Linked DNA regions of Homo sapiens: region 2 is linked to region 1. Evidence: promoter capture Hi-C in 16 types of primary human blood cells and fetal thymus (Javierre and others, 2016). All regions are on one chromosome and are shown on one strand. Each heading gives the region's core, a stretch centred on a gene start or on the middle of the fragment in contact. The rest is flanking DNA. Distances are from core to core; before and after follow the strand shown.

What was found. Contacts are between HindIII fragments. The CHiCAGO score rates a contact against its expected background, and 5 or more counts as called.
Region 2: a contact is called between a fragment that was not itself captured here and the fragment with the promoter of RPS6KA6 in region 1, in 1 of 17 cell types (M1 macrophages). The highest score is 5.3, in M1 macrophages.

The regions. Positions count from the first base shown.
Region 1 is chrX:84,184,331-84,190,410 of GRCh38, reverse strand. RPS6KA6 (ribosomal protein S6 kinase A6) reads left to right here and starts at 2,212. Exons shown (of 22, transcript NM_014496.5): 1 at 2,212-2,592. The coding sequence starts at 2,512. The HindIII fragment of the contact is 4,367 bases long and covers 901-5,267 here.
Region 2 is chrX:84,707,281-84,713,855 of GRCh38, reverse strand. No RefSeq gene overlaps it. Among named protein-coding and RNA genes, the nearest start is that of HDX, 210 kb to the right of the region's middle. RefSeq lists an enhancer at 309-810. The HindIII fragment of the contact is 3,419 bases long and covers 626-4,044 here.

The sequences.
Region 1 (6,080 bases), core at 963-3,462:
GGGATTATGGGGATTCAATTCAAGATGAGATTTGGGTGGGGACACAAAGCCTAACCATATCAGGTATGGATGGGATATGGGAATACCTAGAACGCTGAAAAAGAAAGAGGGTGGGACTGAACCTTGAAGTTCCAATAGGCAGAATTGGGAAGAGGAGGGATGATCCAGTAAAGGAGACAGAAAGATGTATAAGAGAAACAATGATGTAGGAGAAAAACAAACATTATTTCGTTCCAGAGGCCAAGTAAAGAAAATGTTTAAAGAAAGAGTAAGTCATGAACTTACATCAAATGCCAGCAAGTGTTCAAGCAAGCTGTCAATAACATGTTTTTGCTGACGGGAGAGATCCAGTAGAGAGAAAAAAATAGATGATGTTAGTGGGGGGGCGGGTTGCAGAACAAAGCCTTTGAGTAGGCAAGAAGGGATGGATGAGACCCAGCGCTCAAAAGGTTGGCAGTACCAGGCACAGCAGCTCAGGCCTGTAATCCCAGCACTTTGAGAGGCTGAGGTGGGCGGATCACAAGGTCAGGAGTTCGAGACCGGCCTGACCAACATGGTGAAACCCTGTCTCTACTAAAAATACAAAAATTAGCCGGGCGTGGTGGCGCACGCTTGTAATCCCAGCTACTCGGGAGGCTGAGTCAGAAGAATCGCTTGAACCCGGGAGGCAGAGGTTGCAGTGAGCCAAGATCGCGCCACTGCACTCCAGCCTGGGCAACAGAATGAGACTCTGTCTCAAAAAAAAAAAAAAAAAAAAGAAAAAGAAAAAAAGTTGGCCCTAGTTAATACTGTCAGTTCAGCCAAATATGAGTTTATGGGTGTGTGCGTGCACACACAGACACACACACTCTCACACATTTTCACGATTTATAGCCCCATGCACCCACTACTTTCGAAGCTTTGACTTTTAGAGAACCCTGTTCGTTAAGCTCACTTTCTCCTCGAGATTTTCAGCAGAGTAAGTGAGAGGACATTATCAGTTATCCTTGTTTGTAATTCAGTGCAATCTCTGTGGCCAGCTTTGCTTCATTAGCTCTTGAGACCAGATGATGAAATAAATGGAGGGCATAGGTCAACAGCCCTAGGTGTAGAAGGGTAAAGGGGGTGGTGTGCCTTTTATGAACGTTAGAAACCTCTCCAAGGTCCTGAGTTGGTTTAGCCGCTGTTACAGTTGCTCTTTTAAGTCTTTGAAGTGTCAAATGTGGAATAACTTTTAAACTTTCAGCTCTGAAGTGTTTTGATGAGAAGCATCTTGATTATCCCCCGTATAAGATTATACTTTATCTCTGTTATATCGCCAGCTCCCAGTACAATGTGTGGCTTAGAGTAGCGAAGTAGTAAAGCTCGCTTTGAAGAAGGTACTAAAAACTATGATTATTGTCACTACAGACCCAACATTCTCAGAGGGGGCTGGAGGATGGGCTAGCTTCGGAATCATGCCTTTGTTGCCACAAGTGGAGTTCATTAAGTGGCATATGTTTGCCTGTGTGTGTGCATGTGTGAAGAGAAACATTGTGTGTTATCAATAGTGTGAAGGCAACCAGCAGGAGCATCCTGAGAGGGACAAGTAAGGTGGGGGCTAGAGAGGACAGGTATATTTATTTTTTTAAATGGGGGTTATCCTGCCTTTACCTTCTAGGAGGATAATGTATGATGTACTAAAATCCCTGCCCTAGTATTTGTCACTAAGTATCGAAATGGGCGTGGTTTGGCATATAAGACACCTGCTCTTCGTGAGCCCTGCAAAGAGATACTCTTGGAGTCCTACCCTTACCCTGATTCCTCAAGTGCTCTGGAGGGTCCCCCAGTTCCAGCATCCTTTTTGAGAATCCTGCCGCCCGCCAGCAATGCTGCTCCGTGGACTTGAGAGGGCCTGCTGAGCATGTGTGAAGAGCGCTGCGCATGCTCCGTGGAGTGGGCAGGTTTACCGAGGCGCTAGCAGGGGCTTTTACTACTGTTCAGTCGCCTCCCCAGCCCAGCACGCCCCCCTCCCCTCTATCCCACCACCCACCACGCGGTCCCCCGCATCCACCCCGCCCCTCTATCCCGCCCCCTTCACCCCAAGCTGGGGAATCTCCATTGACGTTTGGGTGACGCCGCTGTGCCGCCGCCGTGGGGGGGTCCAGGCGCCGCACAGGTAACGCCGCCGCTGCCGCCATATTGACAGAGCAGGGAGCGGGGAGGGGACCCGAGGAAGTGGGGTGTTGGGGGAGTCACCACCGAGCGGCTGTCGTTGTGGTGGCAGTGGTGAGCGCGAGCCGAGCGGCAGCTCTTGGAGAGGCAGCACAGAGTTGTCTTCTCTATGGGAATCACCGGGCGGCGGCGGCGGCGACCCCCAGCTCCCAGCCTCTGAGAGACCCGGCGGCGAGGGCAGCGCTCGCTGAAGGCGGGGCTGGGGGTCGCGGCGGCGGCGGCGGCGGCGGCGGCGGCGGCGGGCCAGTTCAATAGACAGGATGCGCGGCCGCGCCAGCGGTAGGCGGCAGCTCCTGTTTGAGTGCTCCTGAAGGGGAGATGCTACCATTCGCTCCTCAGGACGAGCCCTGGGACCGAGAAATGGAAGTGTTCAGCGGCGGCGGCGCGAGCAGCGGCGAGGTTAGTGTGGTGGCCAAGACGGGCTGGAGCCAACCCCCGCCTCCTTCCCCTCAAGACCTTGGCTGGGGACGGAGAGAGGAGAGGCGTAGGGCCGGGAAGCGGGCTCCCGGGCAAGCCCCCTTGATGCTGCCTCCACTGCCCTTTCGCTGGGGAGCGGGCGGGGATGAGACGGCGGGCTCGGGCTTGCGGAGTGAGTGCAGCCTGGGCCCGGGCTCGGCCTTGGGCGGAGCGCCTGCCTGGCGGGCCACGCCAGAGTTGTTGTGACTAAGTTTCTTCACTTTCCGACCCGAAGGGGAACTGGGGGACTGGCGGGGTGCTGTGCCTGACTCCGCGCGTCCCTTTTTCTCCGCCGCGCCTAGTTTGCTGGCTGGGAACATTTTGGGGGACAGCTGCGGACTCCAGCTCGCTGTTGAACCCCGGACGCTTTACGAACCCAGTGCAACAAACACACCAAGGTGACTAAGTAACTCTGGGGACATTTGCACATAGGCACGAGTGTTCCCTGGTAACAGCTTTCTCGTTTCTCTGTGGCTTGTTATGGTTCCTTGTAATGACCCATGTCGAGATACACTGGCGACCTATCTCCAGTCGCCAGGTTTCAGGTGATGTTCTACTGCTTCCTCTCAGGTCCCCTTGATTCTACTGCACTCTTGCTCCACCCCTTCTCCTTTCCACAACCGCTGTCCCTGCCCCGTTGGTCTGTAAAAGAAGACGCAAAGTAAACCCCAGCCCTTATAAATAAGTCGAATCTTTGGTAAGACTTAGCGAGGTTCAACCAAAATACTTTGGTTCACCTCTCTTCCCACTCTTCTTACTCTGAAACTGTTCTGGTTGGGCTTTGGTCAGCTGTGCAGTGAGAACTTAGATGTACACAGGTGCTTTGTTTTTATTGTTGTTATAAAAGCGGGCAGCATTTAAACACAAAAACGTGTCTTTTGTGATAGAAAGTTGGATCCTTTTCTGATAACTTAATCGACTGCGTACTACTCCAGTAGAGGCCACCATACACCTCCTAAAAATAGTTGGTGAAATTGATTCACAGTAGGATATTTTGAGGTAAGACTCTCAATCCTCGACATCTAAAGGGTGCAACTTTGTCTTCAAGTACTTGCTCCATTTAAAAAAAATACACATTTGGCTGTTGTATGATTACCTTGTTTTTTTTTCTTTAAATTTTTTTGTTATTTATCAACTAAACTGGGGTTAAGATTACATGCTAGAATAACATGTGGTAAGGAATATAGTGGAAATAAATTCAGAAGTACCCTAAATCTGAACCCTCTATACTTACAGGAAATATTTTACTAGTAAACCAAGCAATTCCAATATACGTTTTAATATTTTACATCTCGTAAGAACAAGATAAATGAATAGGCGTTCCTTTCTTGTTGAAATGTGGGAATGCTAACTGTTTGCACAATTGTCTAGCAAGTCTATTGAAGGGGAGAGGAACTTTGTTATATTCATGTATGTAACTTACTGAACTTATAGGCATTTAGTTTATAAAAACAGTTAAATGCTTTGATATAAGGATGGGATGGGAGGTGGGAATCCTTTTGCATGCCTACTATTTTATTATTTCTGTTAACTTTGAATGTAGTATGTTTTAAATTGTAATTACCACATATGGTTTTTTTATTGTTTGCAGTATGTTTTAGGTATTGTAGAGATTTAACAATGGGTCTCTCTACCTCAGCAATTTGGAAAAATACTCGAGTGGAAATTGTTAATCCCTATGAAGTAAAACGAAAGGTGAAGGTAATGTGGTGAAGATAGTATTTCTGCCTTCTTTCTCTAAAACAGTTATGATTGGTTAGATTTAACCCTGCAAGTTACTTAATAAAAAATATTATAGGTGAAAACTAAATGCTACATTTGAACAGACCCACTTAGTACTTAGAAGAGTTTGTTTGTTTTTAATTATATTCTTTTGATAAGAAGTAAACAAGTTTACTTTTGATAATTTATATTTTAATTACAAATTTGTTGATGTTGGCTTTAAAAATGCTAATTTTGAGTACAAGCTCTACAACCCTCAATTGTGATAATTTTAGGACTAAGAGTGTTTTTGTTGTAGAATATATATTTTTAAAATGTGCTAGAATCCTTAAAGAAAATGTAGGTAAGAATCTGTTAACTTTAATGTCAAAAGAAATAATTTCCGTCCATTTCTGTGTGTGTTGAATCTGGTAAGATTAAAGATTATAGACACTACCATATATTTTGGAGTCTTTTTGTATCTTTTACCTGTCTTGCTTGCATGGACAGTTGTTAACCTTTGAATTATCATTCAGAAGTGTGTAAATTGGTTGTTTGAGACTCTTAACATGTTTTCCCACAGGAAAAACTTATTAAGGGTACTTATATTTTTAGATCAGTACATAATAGCGAGGTATAATGATGCCGAGCCTAACCACTGTTTGTAAAATTGTTCTGTGGTGAAATGTGTCAGGTTTCAACCAATAACTAGCTTGGTTCCAGTGAGAGGTAGAGAATGGGCCTGAAAAGGGGAAACCTGGAATCTTTTGGTTTCTGGGAAGAGAGTTCTTAGAAGAGGGGAAATAGGGTAAGCAAGAAACTGATTGTGAGAGCTCTTGCAGGGACTGTCTCAATGAGGTCTACTGGGAATAGGAACTTCAAAGGGCATCACCCCTCACGCAGTCACAATTTAAGCTTTTGACTGGATTCTGTCAGGATCAAGAAAGAGGTTTTACTTGAGATGGGATGGGTATTGGTCATTCCTGGGCAAGGATCATAAAGAACAACCTGTTTGACTAATGTGAACTTTTCATGATTTAATGCCATGCATGTTACAGTTTGTTCGCTTAGTTGTTTGTTTTTTGGTGAGGAACCAAGTGCTTCTTTATCAAGTTGATGATGTAATTTTCACATTTCATATCATAGTAAACGTGTAGTACTTTTATATTATTTCTTTAGCAATGCTGTTTTTATTTAAGCAAGTTAGTTTTTTTTTTTTTTTTTTTTTTTTGAGTCAGGGTCTTTCTATGTCATTGTACATTGTCCAGGCTGGCCTCGAACTCCTGGACTCAAACAATCCTCATGCCTCAGGTTCCCGAGTAGCTGGGACTACAGGTGCTCACAACCATGCCTGTCTAAACAAATTAGTTTTGAGAGTATGTAGTTTACTGATAAAACCAATTTGGGAAAAACTTCTAGTTTTAATTAATTTTCATGAGACCCTATAGTAATAGAGGAAAGAACAGCTTTGAAGGCAGGTAAATCTGGGTTCTTGTCCGAGCTCCATGCCATACTCATGATGTGACACAATCCACGTTACCTAACCTCTCTGAACCTCACTTTCTTTGTCTATAAGTTGGAGAAAAAACATCTTCAAGAGTTGTTATGTAAAGAAAATTCAGTGCTGGGTTTAATAAACTTAGCAAGATGTTTTGCACTTAGTCTCTAGTACACAATAGTTCCTTCTCTTTTCCCACAGTCATCATGCCTCTTCCCATGCCCCTAAAGTC
Region 2 (6,575 bases), core at 1,086-3,585, 520 kb before region 1:
CTTATATAGTACTGTTAAGTTGTCATTTTGGGGTGGTGGGCTGTGTGTGTGTGTGTGTGTGTGTTGTTCTATAATCTTAACAAATTATTGCAGCCACTTAGATGAAATTCATTACACAGAACATTTCCTGATGAAGTGACATCAGAGCAATGACCACATGCCTATAATATACAGCTGCATTCTAACTATCCATTGTCTTGAAATAAATTGACTCATGGGGCATTTAGGCCTCAGAGCTCAATAGATGACAATAAGTGTACTCCAAGGTTCATGTGGAATGTAAAAATTTAAAAAAAAGCTTCTATTAATGCCCTATATTAGAATTTATAAAGAGTTTTTTCTCGTAATTTTTATTGGAAAAATGTATCTAACTAATGTTAATCTGTGATGCAATTCCATGCAAAGAAAGTTATACCATGCAATTTGCAAAATTTTAAGGAATTTAAGGCTTAAATAGGGAGATACAGGAGAGGGAAGGAGAAAATGGCAAGGAGCCATTTACCTTCTAAAGGAAATAAAGCTCACTACTTAGGGAACTTGAATCCTCAATGGTCCTCCTTTGTCTGTAAACTATCTCCATCATTGTACATTGTATATTTCCCTACAGGTTTGCTTTGAGAAAGCTTCAGAATAATAATGTTTGTCTGCGATTTAATGCCAAGTAAAGAAGCCAGATTATCTAGGTATTTTTAACAAGCACAAGTAAATACAGCCCAGTTTAAGAAAGAGTGGGTTAGTTTGAGGGGCTGGCAAACTACGCCCAATGGGCCAAATCCATTTCACCACCTATTTTTGTATGACCCAAGAGCATAGAATGTATTTTACATTTTTATTACTAAAATGTAAAAAAGCCTATTAGTCCACGAATGAGAACAGTTGCTTCAAGAATTGAGGACATTGCCTCTTGGCCTGCAAAGCCTACAATATTTACAATCTGGTCCTTTATGGAAAAAGTTTGCCAACCTCTGAACTAGACGAGCTCCAAAGCCTTTTGTGACTCAGAGTTCATGAATCTGTGCCTTTATGCAAGATAAAAAGCCCTCCTAGTACTTTAAGATGGCTTTTCAATGTAGATAAATAATTGGTCTGCATGAATTGCTGAGACTTTAGAGGCTTCTCTTTGTATTTTTAACATTATCAAAGTCAAAAGGTAGTTTTCCCCTATGGAAAATTGTGATTTAGCTGAAAAAGGAATTTGTAAGTTGCATAAAAAAAGATGCTCTGTGAATCTTCTCATTTGGACTGAAAACAATAATAATCCAATTAACCTGTAAATGCTACACATGGAGGAGCCTTTTCACATTAAAAGACATTGTGAATGCTGAGCCATCTAAGATGTTTTCCTCTTACACCTAAAAGCTGCTTTTAAGAGATGCCAAGAGAATGAGGGAACAACTTAAGGATGGATTCCCTGGTTCCAGAAGAGTAGAAATGTGTAGCTCACATCTAAAGAGAGGAGGCTACAAAGTCAGTCAATAATAAAAATCATTCCTGTTTCTTACCAACTAAAACTTTCCTTTTTGGGTTTACATGCTTTACCGAACAACTTGAACCCTGTAAGTTGGAGGACTGGACATGATGTAAATTAAACACTTCTTCATTTAATGTCATCATCACTCTTTATCAAAATCTCTTTTATTCATATATATTTTGTCAAACTGAACTATAATATATGGAAGATTAGTCCTACTTAAAATGACCAAAGATCTGAAAATGTAAGAAAGTATTTCTAGCTATACTCCAAAGAATAAATGCTATTATGATATTACTTTCTCTTAAACTTATTTATTTATTCCTTTTCCATATATACATATATGAATATGAATATATATGATTATTTCCTTACTTTTTTCTATTTACCTAGGTATCTATGGCCATATAGTCTTTTAAGCAAACAACCATTTGAACTAGTGATTCTCAGCGTGTCTATCAGTAATACAATGTTTTCAACCTTTCATAGTTAATGAGTCATATTACAGTATTAACAAAAATACTGGAAAGGACGCTTCAGAGAAAAATGAATGTTAATGAATTTATAGTTGCCAAATAGTCTACAAGCAAGGTTTATGTTCAATTATGGAACTTTTTTGTTGCATTCTTGATTAAAATGCAAAATCATGAATTGAAATCGACTCTTGCTTAATATATAAAACTTAAAGAGCTGTATCCTAATAAAAATTTTAATATGTGTGAAATCTATTAAAGTAAAAAGCATTAATTAAAAATTCATATCAAAGTGTTAGAGCATGTAGATAGCTAGATATGAACAGGAGGGGAAACTCCTAGTAGAAAAAAAGAAAAAATGTCTTGGAAGGCTCACGCCCGAGGGGGCACCCAAAATTTTCATATTAATAACATCTCTAATGCTGGAGTGGGTGGGCACTTAGTCAAATGTGAGTGAGAAGAAGAGGAGTTACCTACACAGAAAGAAACACCCAGGAATGCCTCTTAAGATGCCACTTAAGAGTTGGCATCTCTTAAAAGCAGCTTTTAGGTGTAAGAGGAAAACATCTTAGATGGCTCAGCATTCACAAGGTCTTTTAATGTGAAAAGGCTCCTCCATGTGTAGCATTTACAGGTTAATTGGATTATTATTGTTTTCAGTCCAAATGAGAAGATTCACAGAGCATCTTTTTTTATGCAACTTACAAATTCCTTTTTCAGTTAAATCACAATTTTCCATAGGGGAAAACTACCTTTTGACTTTGACAATGTTAAAAATACAAAGAGAAGCCTCTAAAGTCTCAGCATTTCATGCAGACCAATTATTTATCTACATTGAAAAGCCATCTTAAAGTACTAGGAGAGCTTTTTATCTTGCATAAAGGCACAGATTCACGAACTCTTAATAATCATTCACTCTCCAGTTAAAATGTCAGAATATTGTTAGCTACATGCTGATAAGGACAAAAGGGACATTCCTATGAGAAACCTGGCACCACAAGTACAGATTAGCACAGAGAAGGAAATTCCAAGTAGATATTCATTTGCAATAGGTATGGATTTGACCATTCTACAACCTTCCTGGGTTGGCAGTAATGAGCAGGGCCTCCATCAGGAAGGATTTGTGTTAATCACCTGCTCGTGCATGCTCATTAACCAACAGTAAGAGCGGCTCCCACAAGCCTGTGTAGAGACTACCCAGGCATGTAGGGACTTATGGCAGGCGTGTGAAAACTAGACAAAGGACAGAGGTGGGGACTTGAGACAGAGGAGGGAATTTGAAGAAATCTGACATGATAAAACTCCCTGCACGGGACCCTCAGCGCTGTTTTTTGCAGGATCAGCCTGCTCCTTCCTTGGAGTGTACTTAATTTTTCCTGCAATATGCTTTTCACACTATATTTCTTTTCAATAAAGTCCTCTGCTATCTTTGTGCTATCTGTTGGTTGAAATCTTTCTTCTAAGTTTAGAGAAGTACTGGGACATCAGCTCTCCTCAGTAATATTCCTTGGTGCTGAAACCCAGGACTTTGCCTAGTCCAAGCAGGGTTCTCTGAGGTAAGTGCCAGGAGAAATTTCAGACCCCCATTAGACTGCCTCTGCTTCTTCCTACGTAATCCAAAAATAAAATTTGAAGCCCTCCCCCTCCCCACCATCTGAATGAACTCCCTCCTCAGCCAAGGCACTCTAAATTTAACCTGAAAAACTGGTTCAGGCCATGATGGGAAGCGGGGTTGGACATGCCTCATTATGCCCTCCTCCCTTTTGGATTTCAAGAAAAGCTGACAAGCATTTAACATCAACACAGACCTTAAGTCTGATAAGAAGCATTTACAATCTATTGTTTTTGAAGTCAGCTACCTGTAGGCTTCATCTGCATGATAAAACTTTTGTCTCCACAGCCTCTTGTCATAACCCAGACATTCCTTTCCATTGATAATAACTCTTTCAACCAATTGCCAATCAGAAAAAAATTTTAAATTTGCCTATAACCTGGAAGCCCCCACTTCGAGTAGTCTTGGCTTTCTGGACCAAACTAATGCATATCTTAAATGTATTTGATTGATGTCTCATGACTCCCTAAAATGTATAAAACCAAGCTTCACCCTGACCAAGTGGGCATATGTTGTCAGGGTCTCATGAGGGCTGTGCCAGGGGCCATGGTAACTCATATTTTCCTCAGAATAAATCTCTTCAAATATTTTATAGAGTTTGACATTTTTTCCTCTTTACTATTCTAATTCTAACGCAATTCTTGCTACTTTAAAATGAGGCTTTCCTTCTCCTGCTCACTTTCAACTCCCCAGTACAATTCCCTTCAATTACAGTAACTTTTGCTCCCTCTGGCTGATTTTTCAGCTCACCCAGAAAGGTGGCAAGTGGAGGTGGGAGGACTTAAAGACCACATCATGCAGATCTAAGTTACCGTAATTCTCCCTGACAGGAGGCTTGACCTGTTGGCGGGGAATGGCCTAGGCCATGCAATGACTAGAGAATTCTATATATTTTAACTAAAACTACCATATTCCTTTGAGTTGGCTATTTTCCTTCCCTTTTACTCCATTTTATTTCCCAGACAAAATATGCCCCTGCAGGTAATCAATATCACAAATCAGTCCACCTACTCATTGCTGTCTCTTTGCCCATGGAGGGGCTTTCTTGAATACCTCCTCCACATGCAAACCCCTTGCAGGGCCTGCTCTTCTGGGTCATGCTGTGTTTACATTACTGCTGGGAGTTGAAATTCCCTATATGCCTCCTTTGAACTGTATATTTATTTTTTCCCCACGAATGCAGTTCACCTTCACCCTTTCTCTTACCTCCTTTCTCACTACTGGGGCCAAAACTGGCACGATCCTCATTTAAAGGCATCCTTTATTTACTATCAGTCCTTCTCCAGTTGAATACTCTTCTAAAACACTTCACTTTATGGTTCCTTAAACAGGCCGTCCAACTGCTCTGGACAGCCATCTGCGGCCCTCTTACTCATTCTTCCGTATCTCTTTACATCTAGGGTCTCTTATGGGCCTTGGGGAGGTTTTTCTTTTTTTTTTTTTTTGTCTTATAAGGCCATTATTGCCAAACCATGAAGCCCTCAGGTGCTTCTTGTTGTTTGTTGAGAAATCAGACAGAAAATACTCCTGGGGCTTCCTTTGTTGCTTATGTGATTAAAAGGGGGACCTAAGGGACTGGGCATCTGGAGCCCTATGCTGATTCTGGAGCCCCTCAAAGGTAAGGGATGATTCACCTTTATGGGTAATAGGTAGAGGCACAGGGTGCCTTACCTAGGCAAAGGCAAGGAATGCCTCACCTTTATGGGTTATCATAGGAATAAGTGGGGTGATATCTCCTCTATCCTATGAACTATCAGACCAGGAAGCCTGGCCAGAAGTAGGAAGTTTGGATTTTAATACCATCCACCATTTGACTCTTTCTGCTGAAGTCAGGGCAAATTGTCAGAGATCCCCTACTTGCAAGCCTTCATGGCCCTGAGGGAAAACTCTGATCTTTGTAAGGCCTGTAGAATAGAGAAAACCATCCTGGCTATGCTCCATTGTCTGCTCCAGAGCCCTCCACCAAAGATTCCTCAGCCTCCCCCATCCAAGAGCAAATACGAGAAACAGACACCCCAACTCCTTCCCCTACATATCCTACTATCAAGACTATCAAGTCAGCCCTGCCTTACACTGGGCCCTCTAACCCACTCTCCAGACTCTGCCCATTACAAGTGGTAAGTGGACCAACAGGCCAGTCACAGTCCAAGTTCCCTTTTCTATGCAGGACCTTTCTCAAGTTAAGGAAGACCTGGGAAAATTATGGATTATCCCGAGAAATTCATAGAGGGTTTCTGTAAATTAACTCTTACTTTTGAGCTTACCTGGAGGGATATAAGCATCCTCTTAGGACAAACTCTCTCATAAGAAAAAAAAAAAATACCTGTGAGGCAGCACTCTGTTGCAAGGATGACCTGCACTTGGCAAATGTCAACTACCCCATAGGAGCTACAGTTGTTCCCTATGAGGATCCCAGTTGGAATTATAATACCCAGTAGGAATATGGGCCAGAAAGCATATGCTACTATACCTAATAGAGGGAATAAAAAGGAGTAAAGTTAAACCTGAAAATTATAAGTTAGCCACCATAGACTGAGGGCCAAATGAAAACCCCACAGCCTTTCTTGAGATTCTCTAGGAAACTCTTATCAAACATGCAAACCTAGACCCAGGATCCCCAGAAGGCCAATTAGTCCTAAAAGACCACTTCCTTACCCAAGCTGCTTCAGATATTAGGAGAAAATTGCAAAGGCTAGCTTTGGGACCTAATGCCCTATGTCAGAAATCCTCAAATTGGCCTCCTCAGTTTTTTATAACTGAGATCAAGATGAAAAGAAAGGGGCCAAAGAGAAGGAGCAATGGAAAGACAGGAGACACGTTCAATTATTGGCTGCTTTACAAGTCTACCAGCCCTCTAGAGGTTGCCCTAAAAATTCCCTCCCAGGGAATTGCCATTGGTGCGTAATGCCAGGCCACTGGAAGGTAAACCGCCTTGATGGGCTAAATGGGAGAAAGCCCTACAAGGCCTGCCCCCTCTACTATCAGCCCAGACACTAGAAAAAGGACTGTCCCAAGAGCC